Regions from separate parts of the Homo sapiens genome. Here region 2 is linked to region 1. Evidence: promoter capture Hi-C in 16 types of primary human blood cells and fetal thymus (Javierre and others, 2016). All regions are on one chromosome and are shown on one strand. The core of a region is centred on a gene start or on the middle of the fragment in contact, and the rest is flanking DNA. Distances in the headings are between cores, read along the strand shown. Region 1 holds the start of FZD8 (frizzled class receptor 8). Region 2 has its middle 440 kb from the start of ANKRD30A.

The links. The method cuts DNA at HindIII sites, captures the fragments that hold promoters and counts their contacts. A CHiCAGO score of 5 or more calls a contact.
Region 2: a fragment that was not itself captured here is called in contact with the fragment with the promoter of FZD8 in region 1 in 1 of 17 cell types (naive B cells); the score reaches 5.0 in naive B cells.

The regions. Positions count from the first base shown.
Region 1 is chr10:35,640,130-35,646,264 of GRCh38, forward strand. It overlaps FZD8 (frizzled class receptor 8), which reads right to left and starts at 2,167. Exons shown (of 1, transcript NM_031866.3): 1 at 1-2,167. The coding sequence starts at 1,300. LOC124902528 (zinc finger protein 469-like) reads right to left here and starts at 2,717. Exons shown (of 2, transcript XM_047426128.1): 1 at 2,501-2,717; 2 at 1,599-2,284. The coding sequence starts at 2,717. The coding sequence ends at 1,599. MIR4683 (microRNA 4683) reads right to left here and starts at 1,123; the gene lies at 1,043-1,123. It overlaps LOC105376494 (a long non-coding RNA gene), which reads left to right and starts at 3,186. Exons shown (of 2, transcript XR_930820.3): 1 at 3,186-4,787. RefSeq lists silencers at 1-86, 626-715 and an enhancer at 356-515. The HindIII fragment of the contact is 11,239 bases long and covers 1-6,135 here.
Region 2 is chr10:36,686,979-36,693,113 of GRCh38, forward strand. No RefSeq gene overlaps it. Among named protein-coding and RNA genes, the nearest start is that of ANKRD30A, 440 kb to the right of the region's middle. The HindIII fragment of the contact is 192 bases long and covers 3,015-3,206 here.

The DNA.
Region 1 (6,135 bases), core at 917-3,416:
TGGCTTCGTTGCCCCACTTCATACCGGCCGCCAGGAACCATGTGAGCGACAAGATCACCCACCAGATGGAGCTGGCCATGCCGAAGAAGTAGACCAGCAAGAAGACCACGGTGCACAGCGCGGGGCCGGTGGTCTCGTAGCGCACGTGCTGCTCCACCGCGCCCAGCTCCTCGTACTCGCCGCGCCCGCCCGGGCCGCCCGCGCCCGCGCCCGCCGCGCCCGCGCCCGCCGCCGCGCCGCCCGCGCCCCCAGCGCCCCCCGCGCCCGGCGCGCCACCGCTGCACGCCACCTTCTCGTGGCCCGCCACCAGGCGCACTAGGTAGCCCACCGACACGAAGAGGTAGCAGGCCGAGAGGAAGATAATGGGCCGCTCCGGGTACTTGAAGCGCTCCATGTCGATAAGGAAGGTGGAGACGGTGGCGAAGGTGGACACGAAGCAGAGCACCGACCACAGGCCGATCCAGAAGACGGTGAAGGCGCGCTCGTCCTGGCTGAAAAAGGGGTTGTGGCAGGGCAGCGCGCAGTTAGCGATCTGGCCTGTCTTGACGCGGTTGTAGAGCGGGTGGCGCTCGCTGGACACGCTCACCATAGGCGCGCGGCACTGGCACCCGGGCTCGCAGGGAGCCGCGCCGCCGCCAGGGGGCCGCGCCTTCCCGCCACCGCCGCCGCCGCGAGCTGGGGGCGCCGCCGCGTCCCCGCCGCCACCGCCCCTGCCGCCGCCGCGGTGCGGGGGCCTGGCCCCCGGCGGGCGGCCGTGGCCGCTGCCCGAAGGCGGCTGCTCGCCGGGCGGCGGCGGCGGCAGGCGGCGCGGCGGGCTGGGCGCGGCGGTGGTTAGGTCGGTGCGGTTGTAGTCCATGCACAGCGTGTCAGGGTTGCCTTGCTCGGGCAGCCGGTCGCAGCGCATGCGGTCGGGCCAGGCGAAGCCGTACTGGCGCATGAGCGGCGCGCAGCCGGCCTTGGCGCGCTCGCACACCGAGCGGCAGGGCGGCAGCGGCTTCTTGTAGTCCTCTAGGCAGATGGGCGTGTACATGCTGCACAGGAAGAACTTGAGATCGGGCGAGCACTGGATCTCCACCAGCGGCCAGAACTGGTGCACCTCCAGGCCCGCCTCGTCTTGCGTGTCGTGGTTGAACTGATTGGGCATGTAGGTGTAGTTGTAGCCGATGCCCTTACACAGCGGCACGGTGATCTCTTGGCATGCCAGCTCCTTGGCCGAGGCGGCCGCAGCGCCGCTAGAGCGCTGCAGCAGCGCCAAGGCGGCCAGCAGCGAGGTCACTTCCAACAGGTAACCCCACTCCATGCTGTGCGCCTCGGCCCGGTGCCCTCGCCCTCCAGGCGGCGCGCAGAGGGGTGCCGGGGGGGGGGCCCACGAGAGAGCCGCAGACGGGTACAGCGGGTGATCTGGGGTCTCCCTTATGCTTCGCCCGGGAGGGGGGTCTGCCGATAATCTAACCCCTTCTAGGGGCGCGTCCGCAGCGGCGCGGCCCGCAGCCTGGGCAGGGCCCTTCCGCACTCCTTTCCGCCGCTCCGGGGGTTTGAAGGCGGCTGCAGGCGCGCGCCACAGTCCGTAGGTCCGCTCTGCTGGCCCCGGGTCGCGCTCAGCCCTCGCGGCGCAGAGCGGCCGGGCCTCGGCTCATCGTCCCGCGCTCGCTCGCCTCCTCTCCGCGCGCCCGACCACTTCTCCCCGCCGCGCCGGGCGGCGGTGACTCCGCCGGACAGAGAGGGCGGAGGCGCCGCAAGTTTCCTCTGGGGCCGCGGTGCGCAGTCAAGATGGCTGGGCCGGGCCGCTTGCCGCGCCGGGTCAGCCCTGGCGGCCACCACTCGGCCCCCGGGGGCTCATGCCCGCCCCCAAGGCCAAGCCGCCGCCGCCGCCGCCGGAGTTGGGGACCCGCCTCGGCCCAGGCCGCCGCCCTCTTTCTCCGGCGTCCGTCCTTCGTCCGTCCGCCGCCGGGACAGACGGACCCCCGCCGCCTGGAAAAGTCAGCGCCGCGCTCCGGCCGCAGTCGGGCGAGGTGCACACAGTCTCCTTCCTGCTGGACACCCAGGAGCAAATCCAGACCGGAAGGCGGAGCGGACACCTGAGTGGCGCGGCCCGCGCCCAGCCGCCGCCTCCTCCTCGGCGGGAGCAGCGCCCTTAGCCCAACTTCCCGGCTCCAGCCCCGCTCGCGCCGCGCTGCCGGCTCATGAATATTTATACAGCGCGGACTCGGTCTCCGCCCCCAGCCCCGCGAGCCAATCGCCGGGCGGTAGGGCGGAGTCCACGCGCTCCCAGGGCTCAGCCTTCCTTAAGGCAGTCCCCGAGTGTCCGCACTGCTGTGCGCGCTCTCTGCGGATGGAGAGTTTTGGTAACCTTGGGATTGACCGCAGAGACAGAGTGTTGGCCATGGCTGTCCCCATGGCGCTGAGTGCGTCGGAGGTCTTGGTCCCCTTACCCCGAGTCTGCCCTTGGGGACAGGGACGGGGTTTGGTGCAGCGCGCGCCTCCCCGGCGCGTTTCAAACCAGCCAAGCCCCTGCTGCCACCCTCCGCAAATGTGGGTGATCTGCAGGCGGCTGGGGTCTCGTGCTCCTCGGGGCGGCAGGAAGGTCTCGCAGCAGGCGAGCGCCGGGGAGGCCTGCCGGGGCTCGGCGCTGCAGAAGACCCGGGAAAGGGTGTCCTCCTTGGGGTTCTCAGAACGATGGTTTCTGAGACTTGGAGATGTGGGGGGTGTGGAGTCATTCTAAACTGGGGCTGGACCCGGGACGGCCCGGGTGAGATGCCCCGGAGCCCAGCCTTGGGCGCGCGAGGGGCGCGGGGGACAAATGCCCGCCAGAGACTCTCCTCCCGCCTCCGCTGCGTGACCTGGGGGAGCCTCAGTTTCCCCACCTAGAGAGTTGGGTGATCATAGCACAGATCTCCAAGGGGGCTTTGATAATTAGGTGAGATAAAATATAGGAAGCCCCGAGCCGCCGTGCTTTCTTAGGAAAAATCATTCAATTTCTTTCTAAAATTCAAAACAAACCTCGAAACTTATAAATAGGACAGGCTGGAAACTCTGGGGCTGGATTCCCTGTCTTCCCTTCGTTCTTTCAGGACGTCTATTCATCCATCCCAAGTTCACAGGCTTTTGCCAGAGCCTCCTTTTCTCTGGTGGGAGGCGGCGCTGCGCTCTGGCGTGGACTCCGCGACACGTATCTGCTCTCTGCACGAGGCCGGAGCCGGACCCGGGCTGCTTTTAGCAGCCGCTTGGGCCACCGCCAGCGAACGCTGCCCCCGCCGGCTCCGCCGCCACCTTAAGACGGGCCGGGAGGGGGGCTGCGGGCGGCCCGGGCCGGCGGCCTGGCAGGTTCATTTACGCTTGTTAGGGCGTCCCAGGGGGCTGTCTTTCTCCTAGAATGGAGTGTTTATTTTTTAATTGATGTGCTGTTTCATTTAGCGCTTGTATGGAACTCATGCTGGGGCAGTAATTACTGTAATCTCGGGAACAAGCATTTCAGTTAGCCAGGAGGGTGGCAGAATATGTTTCTCTCTCTCTTTCTCTCCCTCCCTCCCGCCTCCTCCCCATCTCCGTCCCCCTCTCTCCCTCTTCCTCCCTGCCTCTCTTCTGTCTTCCCTCTCTCTCTCTCCCCACCTCCTTTCCTTCTCTCTCTCCCCCACCACTTTCTCTCCCCCCTCCTCCTCTTCCCCTCCTCCCTCTCCTTCCTTCCCTCCCTTTTCTCTCCGCTCTCTCACTCTCTTCTTGTTTCAAGATTTTTGCTATTTGCCAGGTTTCATACCGGAACAAGTACAGTTGGAGAACAAAAGTTGCAGAGGGCGTGGGGACAGAGCAAAAGAATTAAAAGTACATTTGAGGCCAGTTCCGGTTTTCGGGGCGCTGCTGGTGGTGGTGGTAGCTCGTGGTTGTCCGTTCAGAAACAACTCTTGTCATAAAACAAAAATAACCAGCAGTATTTGTAGATTGCTTGAGCTGATGGCATCTATGTCTTCCTCCTCCTGCTTTCTGTAGCTCAGTTAGCAACCTCATTATGAAACATATTACAAGTAGACTGTCAGACCGCACCCTGCCCCAGCGCCCCGTTTTTGGCAAGTTCTGTGTTCTAGGCATATCCACCAATCTATAGTTATACCCCCCTATCTTTTTAACTTTTTTAGTTTTAGTCTATAGAGTTGAACCTCTTTATACTGAAAAACAACACTTCCTTCCCACTTTTGTTTTGGAAAAACTAAAGTCCGTAGGAATTCGGAATTCAAAGGCTTCAGAAATATTAGCTGATTCAGCAGAAAACGGGCTATTCAAAAATACAGACTAGACCTTTACTTGATTAAAAAATTTTTTTTCTTTTCTCACCTCCTGCAAATCGGAATTCCCACTTGTATGTTGAATGTAGAAATTCACTATCTCTGCGGTTGGCACCTTGTTTCCAGAGGGCGAGTCTCCAGAACGCATCAGCTGCAGGTAATTGCCAGAGGTTCCAGTGCTGATCTGAGGGCAGCGGTGCAGGCAGAGCCCCAAAGACCAGCAAGGGTGCTGCACTGCCCGCACCACAGATGGGAGGGGCTGGTTTCCAAGAGCAACACAGATGGTGAAAAGTTTCTGTTGCTTTTCTTCCACGGGGAAATGTCAAATAGTGAAGTTTAGAATTACACTACATAAATTTGCTAGAATTGGGTAAAAACAAACTGACATTTGAAAATTGAAATTGAAGCTGAAAATGGTTGATTTTGGCTCTTAATTGGCTTTAAATTTTTTTTCTTTTTTCTTTTGAGACAAGATGAAAAGTTTGATGATGTGGAATGTGGAAATTTTGGGTAAGTATGTTAAGTTTGCATGAGAAAATAAGCAGACTGAAGTTCAGAATTTCAAAAATCATATCAGCTATTTGGGAGATCTTAGTGATTTGTGAGGTTAAAACCAGTTACATAAAAGTCATGACAAATGTACTTTTAATTGAGAGAATATAAGAATCGCATTTTACATCTACTGTTAAATTAAACGGCTACTTGGTAGTCTTTCAGAGAAGGGAGAGACTTCTGTAGCCAATTAGTGCGTAAAAGGTAATGATGGGTTACCTAGAAGTAACCAGAACATATATCAACTTCTATGGCTAAATAATGATATTTTCATTGTATGTAAAGCAGCTGTTTTTTAGGGGAGGGGAAATAGCTTTAGTAGTGACATAAATAATGTAGGGAAGTTTCTAAAGGGATTTCTGAGCAGATGGCTTGTTGCTGAATGGCCTGCAAGCAAATAATGTAAACAGTTGGAATCAGGAATCTACCTCAGAGGAGGGAAGGTTTTACAAAACGTTGGCTACCGAGTTAGACAGGGGACTATCAATACTGTCTGTAACAAATTTAAGAAACTTTGGGGAAATCATGTTCCAGTGGATTACCATCTAAAAATCCAATATAAGAATCTGGATGGAAGAGAGAGCCTGGCATATACTAACAGAATGATACGTTCCAAAGATTAAATGAGGAACTCTTTGGTAACTAATACAATTTCTCAGGTGTTATAAACTGCCAAATATTGGCCAGATACGGTGACTCATGCCTGTAATCCCAGCACTTTGGGACGCTGAGGCAGGCAGATCGCTTGAGTCTAGGAGTTCGAGACCAGCCTGGGCAACATAGCAAAACCCTGTCTCTACAAAAAATACAAACATGAGCTGGGTGCGGTGGCATGTGCCTGTAGTCCCAGCTACACCAGAGGCTGAGGTGGGAGGATCACTTGAGTTTTGGAGGCTGGGGCTGCAGTGAGCCATGACTGTATCACTGCACTCCAGCCTGGGCAACAGAGTAAGACCCTGTCTCTAAATAAATAAATGCCAAATATTATTTTCTCTCAAGAAAACAGTTAAGTACTATATTATTAGATAATATAAAATTCTTATCACTGGCTGGGCTCAGTGGCTTACGTTTGTCTTAGTGCTTTGGGAGGCCAAGGTGGAAGGATCGCTTGAGGCCAGGAGTTGGAGAGCAGTCTGAGCAACATAGTAAGACCCGAGTCTACCAAAAAAAAAAAAACCAAAAACAAAACAACAACAACAACAAAAAAAACAACAAAAAAACAAGGCCAGGCACGGTGGTTGTTCACGCCTGTAATCCTAGCACTTTGGGAAGCCGAGGTCAGAGGATCACTAGAGGTCAGGAGTTC
Region 2 (6,135 bases), core at 1,861-4,360, 1.0 Mb after region 1:
TAGGTAAAATAATCACTATTTTCCTGTGGATAGCTGGCCTTGAATTCTATCTTAGTTACCAGGGTAAGAGAGTGTGATGATCTCTTCTAGATACTATTTTAGTACATCACATACTCACTTCATAATTTAACAGAATTGCTGGTGGCTATACCCAAGCTTGTTAGAATAAACATTACCAAGTTTCAGAATCAAAGTTCATTTAAAAAGTCCACTGATTGCAACACCTGATTAATACATTTAGGGGAAAGGGAAGAACAAAGCTTCGTGGTAATTAATAGGATGTCAAACCTGGATGGAACCCTAGACACTTGCACGGATGCCCCTTTGAGCTGAGGAGAGACCCAGGACAAGAGCTGCAATGTGTATCTTGATTCTATTGCAAATGATTCACTGGAAACTATGCACTTAAATGTATTGGTTAATTATTCCATACATGCTGCACAATGTTCTTGGCATTGATAATTCATAGGTTTAAAAAAATCATAATCTCTAGGGGAATCAAAAGGAAAGGGAATAGAAAAAAGAAAGTAAGAAGCCACAAATTTCAAGAGAGAAAAACTGACAAAAAGAAGGGGGTAGTCAACTTCATGAATAATGCGGATGTACTGAGTGGGATGAGAACCCAGAGTGTGTGTGGGATTTGGAATTACACACATGACCTTGGCACAGTGTCAGTAAAGTGCTCAGGAGGGAACTCAGATTGTAGCCAGGATGAAGAAGGTGTGGGGAATTCCTAAAGCCATAAGCATGAAAGAAACCCATTTTTAAAAATGGGCAACAGGTATAAACAGGCAAGTTCACAAAAGACAAAATCCAAAATCCCTATTTTAAAAAACGATTCAATCTCTGTGATCAAGGATATGCAAATGAGAATGAGGAAATACCACAATACTTCCATTACATGAGGTGGGGAGTGTCTGACAACACCTGTTTTGGGAAGACATGGAGATACAGAAATTCTCATAACTCTGCTTGTGGAGTATAGATTGTTAAAACTTGGAAACCAATTTGACAACAGCCAGAAAAGTTCAAAAGGTACATTGTCCCGTAACTCAGCAATTCCTTTGTTAGCTGTATTCTCTAGAGAAATGCTTACACATAGGCACCTAGATAAATGTAGAATGTAGTTCAATGAAGCATTAATACATACTAAGCAACAATCTTTGGGAAAACAGACTTTAAAAGTTGTACTCCTTAAAACCTAGATGACGGGTTGATAGATGCAGCAAACCACCATGGCACATGTATACCTATGTAACAAACCTGCACGTTCAGCACGTGTATCCCAGAACTTAAAAAAAAAAGAAAAAAAAGTTGTGCTGCTGCTACCTGATTCAGGACCCAGACCTCAGGAAGACATAAATGTTAGCCCTTTCTCCAATTTTTTGTGCTTTGGATACATTTCTTTTCTGTGAAGATATTTGCCTTATATTTGACTGTGTCTGTGTTTTGGTTTTCTATTTCCATGTTACATTCATCACTGCCATTTTAAAATCTCTACCAAGAAGCACCAAAATATATTTTATACATCTACACTCAAAAATTGATTGTAAAACAGAAAAAGGTGAACAAAATGAGTATCAACCACTTTTCTAGGACCCATTAGAGGACTGAAGCTGCAGCACAAACTACCACTCTGAAATTTAGAGACAAGAGCATCCCAAATGCCACAGGCAGCTGAGATCTGCTTATCTGGAGAGAAGCCAGTGGAGACTTAAATTGGTAGAAACACATAAATGGTCATTTTTAAAAATTGTTGGAGACTGTGTGGACTAGTGTGAGAGCAAAAATCTTCTGGACCTGGAGCTTTAACTGGATCCCCAGGATTTCCCAGGCTTTACCTCCAGGTACTCAATCAGGTTCTCAGGAGAAGGAGCCAGGAAAGATGCTCTCTCAGCTCTGGCATGGAGAAGGAAAAAGGAAATCTTATGAAATGCACCAGGGATTTTTCCATAACAAAGGCTTACCCTCCAGGGGAAAGAGCTTTGTCAGAGTGTTATTCCAGTTGAAGAACTGGAATTCTTTCTACTTCAGCCCCCTCCAGCCTTCCAGTCTCCCCTAAGAGAAAAACAAGAAAACAATAAACTAACAAAATATGACTTCTGATTCTGCAAATTGCAGTAGACCTGCTATTCGCTATTCTTCCCGCTAACAACCCTGAAAATTACATATTCAACAAACACAAGGAGACTCTGGAAGGTGGGGAGAAGAAGGTAACTGAGCTGGGCAACTTGGGACACAAAGAATGACATATGGTGGTGAGTTTCCAGGTTTGCTTTCTGCCTCATATAACCATGACTTGGAGCTAAAGAAGGCAGCAGTTTGGAAATGCCAAGGGCAGAGACAATACAACCCCCAACAAAAGGCTGCTCTCCTAGCCAGAGGACCACAAAAGGGGCGGTGTAGCAGGAAAAGAAACTCTGGGAAAATATTTTATATTCTAGACAAATACAACAGAAAAAACAAACAAACAAACACGTGACCCCAACTCCAACCATACCATCAAAGGCCATGAGAGGAGCCTAGACTGCCACCCTCACCAGTTGTGATGAGGTGCCTTAAATCCCTGCAGGGTTGTCAGAGAAGGCAAGTAGCGAGCCATGATATTTATCCTCACCTGCTGGAAACAAGCGTTCTCAAAGAGTTGGTGGAGACTACATGAGAACTTGGAATTCTACCCCCATCCATCTGTAACAAGACAATCCTCACCCTCCCTGGTGGGTTGGTGACAGAGGCATCTTATTAGAGAGTTAGCACAGTCATCATTGCCCAGTGGTAACAAGGCCACTCACTCCATGATGACAGTGGGGGACACAGAGGAGCAGGACCATCCACCCTTACACAGCCTCTCATCTGGTGTCATGGGGTCTGAGTGGTAAACCTGAACTCTGCCTTATCTGGAAGTAATAAGGTGGTGCCTCCCTCTCCTCCTGCCAGACTGGTATCAGAAAAAGCCAGATAAAACGGCAGATTTAAACAGATACAGAGTCTTATGACATAATACAAAATGTCCAAGCTTCAATATTAAATCACCCATCATACCAAGAATCAGGAGGATATCAAACTGAATTAAAAAGACAATTGGCCCATGCCCATATCAAGATAACAGACATGATACAACTATCTGAGAAAGATTTTAAAGCAGTCCTAATAAAAATACTTCAACTAACCATCACAAACAATCTTTAAAGAAACAAAAAGTAGAAAGCTTCAGCAAAGAAACAGAAGACATAAAGAAGAACCAAATGGGAATTTTAGAATTAAAAGATATACAGTTAATTTAAAGGCACAGTGAATGGGGTTAGTGCCAGAATGAAGAAATAGAGGAAAGAGTAAGTGAACTGGAAGAGGGAAAATATAATTATCAAATGTGAACGACTGAAAGAATATAGAAATTTAAAAAAAGAACAAAGTCTCAGGGATCTGTGGTATATAAGAAAGATCTAACATTCACATTATTGAAATTCCAACTGAGACAGGAGAAAGAGGGCCAGGCTGAAGACAATAATTTATGGAATAATGGCTGAAAACTTCTCATATTTGGCAAGAGGCATAAATGTACAGATTGGAGAAGTTGAGGGGATTCAAAAGAGGATGGCCAGCCGTGGTGGCTCACGCCTGTAATCCCAGCACTTTGGGAGGCCGAGGTGGGTGGATCACCTGAGGTCAGGAGTTCGAGACCGGCCTGGCTAACATGATTAAACTACGTCTCTACTAAAAATACAAAATTCAGCCAGGCATGGTGGCACATGCCTATAATCCCAGCTACTTGGGAGGCTGAGGCAGGAGAATTGCTTGAACCCGGAAGACGGAGGCTGCAGTGAGCCGAGATGGTGCCACAGTACTCCAGCCTAGGCAACAAGAGCGAAACTCTGTCTAAAAAAAAAAAAAAAAAGCGTAAATCTAAAGAAACCATACCCAGACAAATCATAGATAAACTTCTAAACATTAAAGACAAAAATTCTTGAAAACAGCAAGAGATAAACACTACCTTACCTATCAAGCAAAAGCAGTTTGAATGATAGCTGATTCCTCATCAGAAACCATGGAAGATGGAAGAAAGTAGCACAGTATTTTCTAATTGCTGAAAAAAAGGCCTGTCATCTGGATTTCAGTACTTAATAAAAATAATCTTCAAGAATGAAGGGGAAATAAAGATATTCTCAGATGAAGACAATCTCAGATCATTTGTCACGAGAAGACCTATCCTAAAAGAATGGCTAAGGATGTTCTCAAACACACAAAGGAAACAATAAAATAAAGAACCTTGGAGCATCAGAAAGGAAGAATACAGCAGGCAGAAATATGGGTTCACACTGGGATTCTAGCTCCTGGTTAACCTGCATGTGATCTTCCAAGACTGTCCACAGGCAAGTCCGATGCCTTTACCTGGCAGGCTTCACACAGGAGAGCTACCCTCCCCACACCAGGCTTGGTGCACAGCCAGTGCATTGCAGTTATTATTATTATTATTATTTTTTGAGACAGAATCTCGCTCTGTCACCCAGCTGGAGTGCAGCGGTGCAATCTCAGCTGACTACAACCTCTGCCTCCCGGGTTCAAGTGATTCTCCTGCCTCAGCCTCCCGAGTAGCTGGGACTACAGTTGCGTGCCACCACGCCCAGCTAATTTTTTGTATTTTTAGTAGAGACAGGGTTTCACTGTGTTATCCAGGATGGTCTCAATCTCCTGACCTCATGATCTCCTGCCTCAGCCTCCCAAAGTACTGGGATTACAGGTGGGAGCCACTGCGCCCCGCCAGTGCAATGCAGTTCTAATGGGAGTTGATGTCAGGGACTCAGGGGCCTCTGGGCCAGGCATGCTCTTGGGCATATTCCTAGCCCAGACCTGTCCATTCCTGGAACTCTCTATCTGAGGCCTTGAGCAGAAGTCTTCTTCACTGGCCTCTGCTGAGAATTTATCCGAGAGAAAGGGGGAAAGCTTCAAGCCACTTTTTCCTACTCTGACTCAATACTCAGTACTTTCCACCCGTGCCCTTCCCTTTCTCCATCCTCCTGGTGGTCCCCAGTCGCAGGGTCTGTAATATTGCACTAGCCTTTTACTTGAGGCAATCTCCACATCATGCTGATCCACCTGGCCCTCAGCCATTGCACCAATCCATAGGGGAAGGTAGAGTAGGGCAGACCCAGCACTCTGTTTCAGACTCTTGGTGATACCATAAGAGTAAGGGATTAAAACCACTGCTCAGTGGCTTTCATTTCTGGTTTGTCACTGATACGGACAGGAGACAGGGAAAACTGAGTAGAAAGGAGCAGTTCCCAGGCAAAGGCCCCACCCTCAAGCCTGGATACCCTCGGCCCTACATGAGAACAAGCATTCCTGTTTTCACAACCCAAAAGTTGCCTTTTGTCCTGCCACACCCCCTATCCTGCACCCATGCATATATACCCTGAACCCCAGGCTCCAGAAGCCGACCAGTAAGCCACCAGATCAGCGATGGTTGGAGAAGGGATGCGGCAGAGAAAGAGAGAAGAGGAGGAACATCTAACACCCAGAGGAGTTTAGCGGGGGCCGTTGGAGAGGAGTCCAGCAGCTGAGTGGCCCAGCTCCGGCTCCGGAGGAAGATCGCCTTCCCTCTCCATCTCCCCATTGCGGCCCCCGATCCATCCGGCTGAAAGCCACCTCCACCACTCAATAAAACTTCGCATTCATCCTTCAAGCCCGTGTGTGACCCAAGTTTTCCGTGATGCTGGGCAAGACCTCGGAATAGAGAAAGCTGTCACACTGGCCCTCTGCCCTTGCCAAAAGGCAGAGGATTCATTGAGCTGACTAACACTCAAGCCTCTGCAGGCGGCAGAGCTGAAAGAGCTTTATAACGGGGGGGGGGTTGCAGGCACCCTCCTCAGACACTACCTACCGAGGAGCCAGAGCCCAAAGCGCTTGCCCCAGCCTCTGCGCCTGACTGTCTGCATCCTCTCCCTCCTGCCAAGGGGTTTGAGCAGGCGGCACCACTGAACAGGCAAGCCACACCCCTGCCGCACATCCTGCGTCCTGCCAGGGGAATCAGCGAACTCTCCCGCTTCATCACTTTACTTGGCTACTCTGACACCTGACAGCTTAGCTGTCTCCAACTCAGCTGAGCTCCTGACAAATAGACCCTTCCTGAGTTTTCAA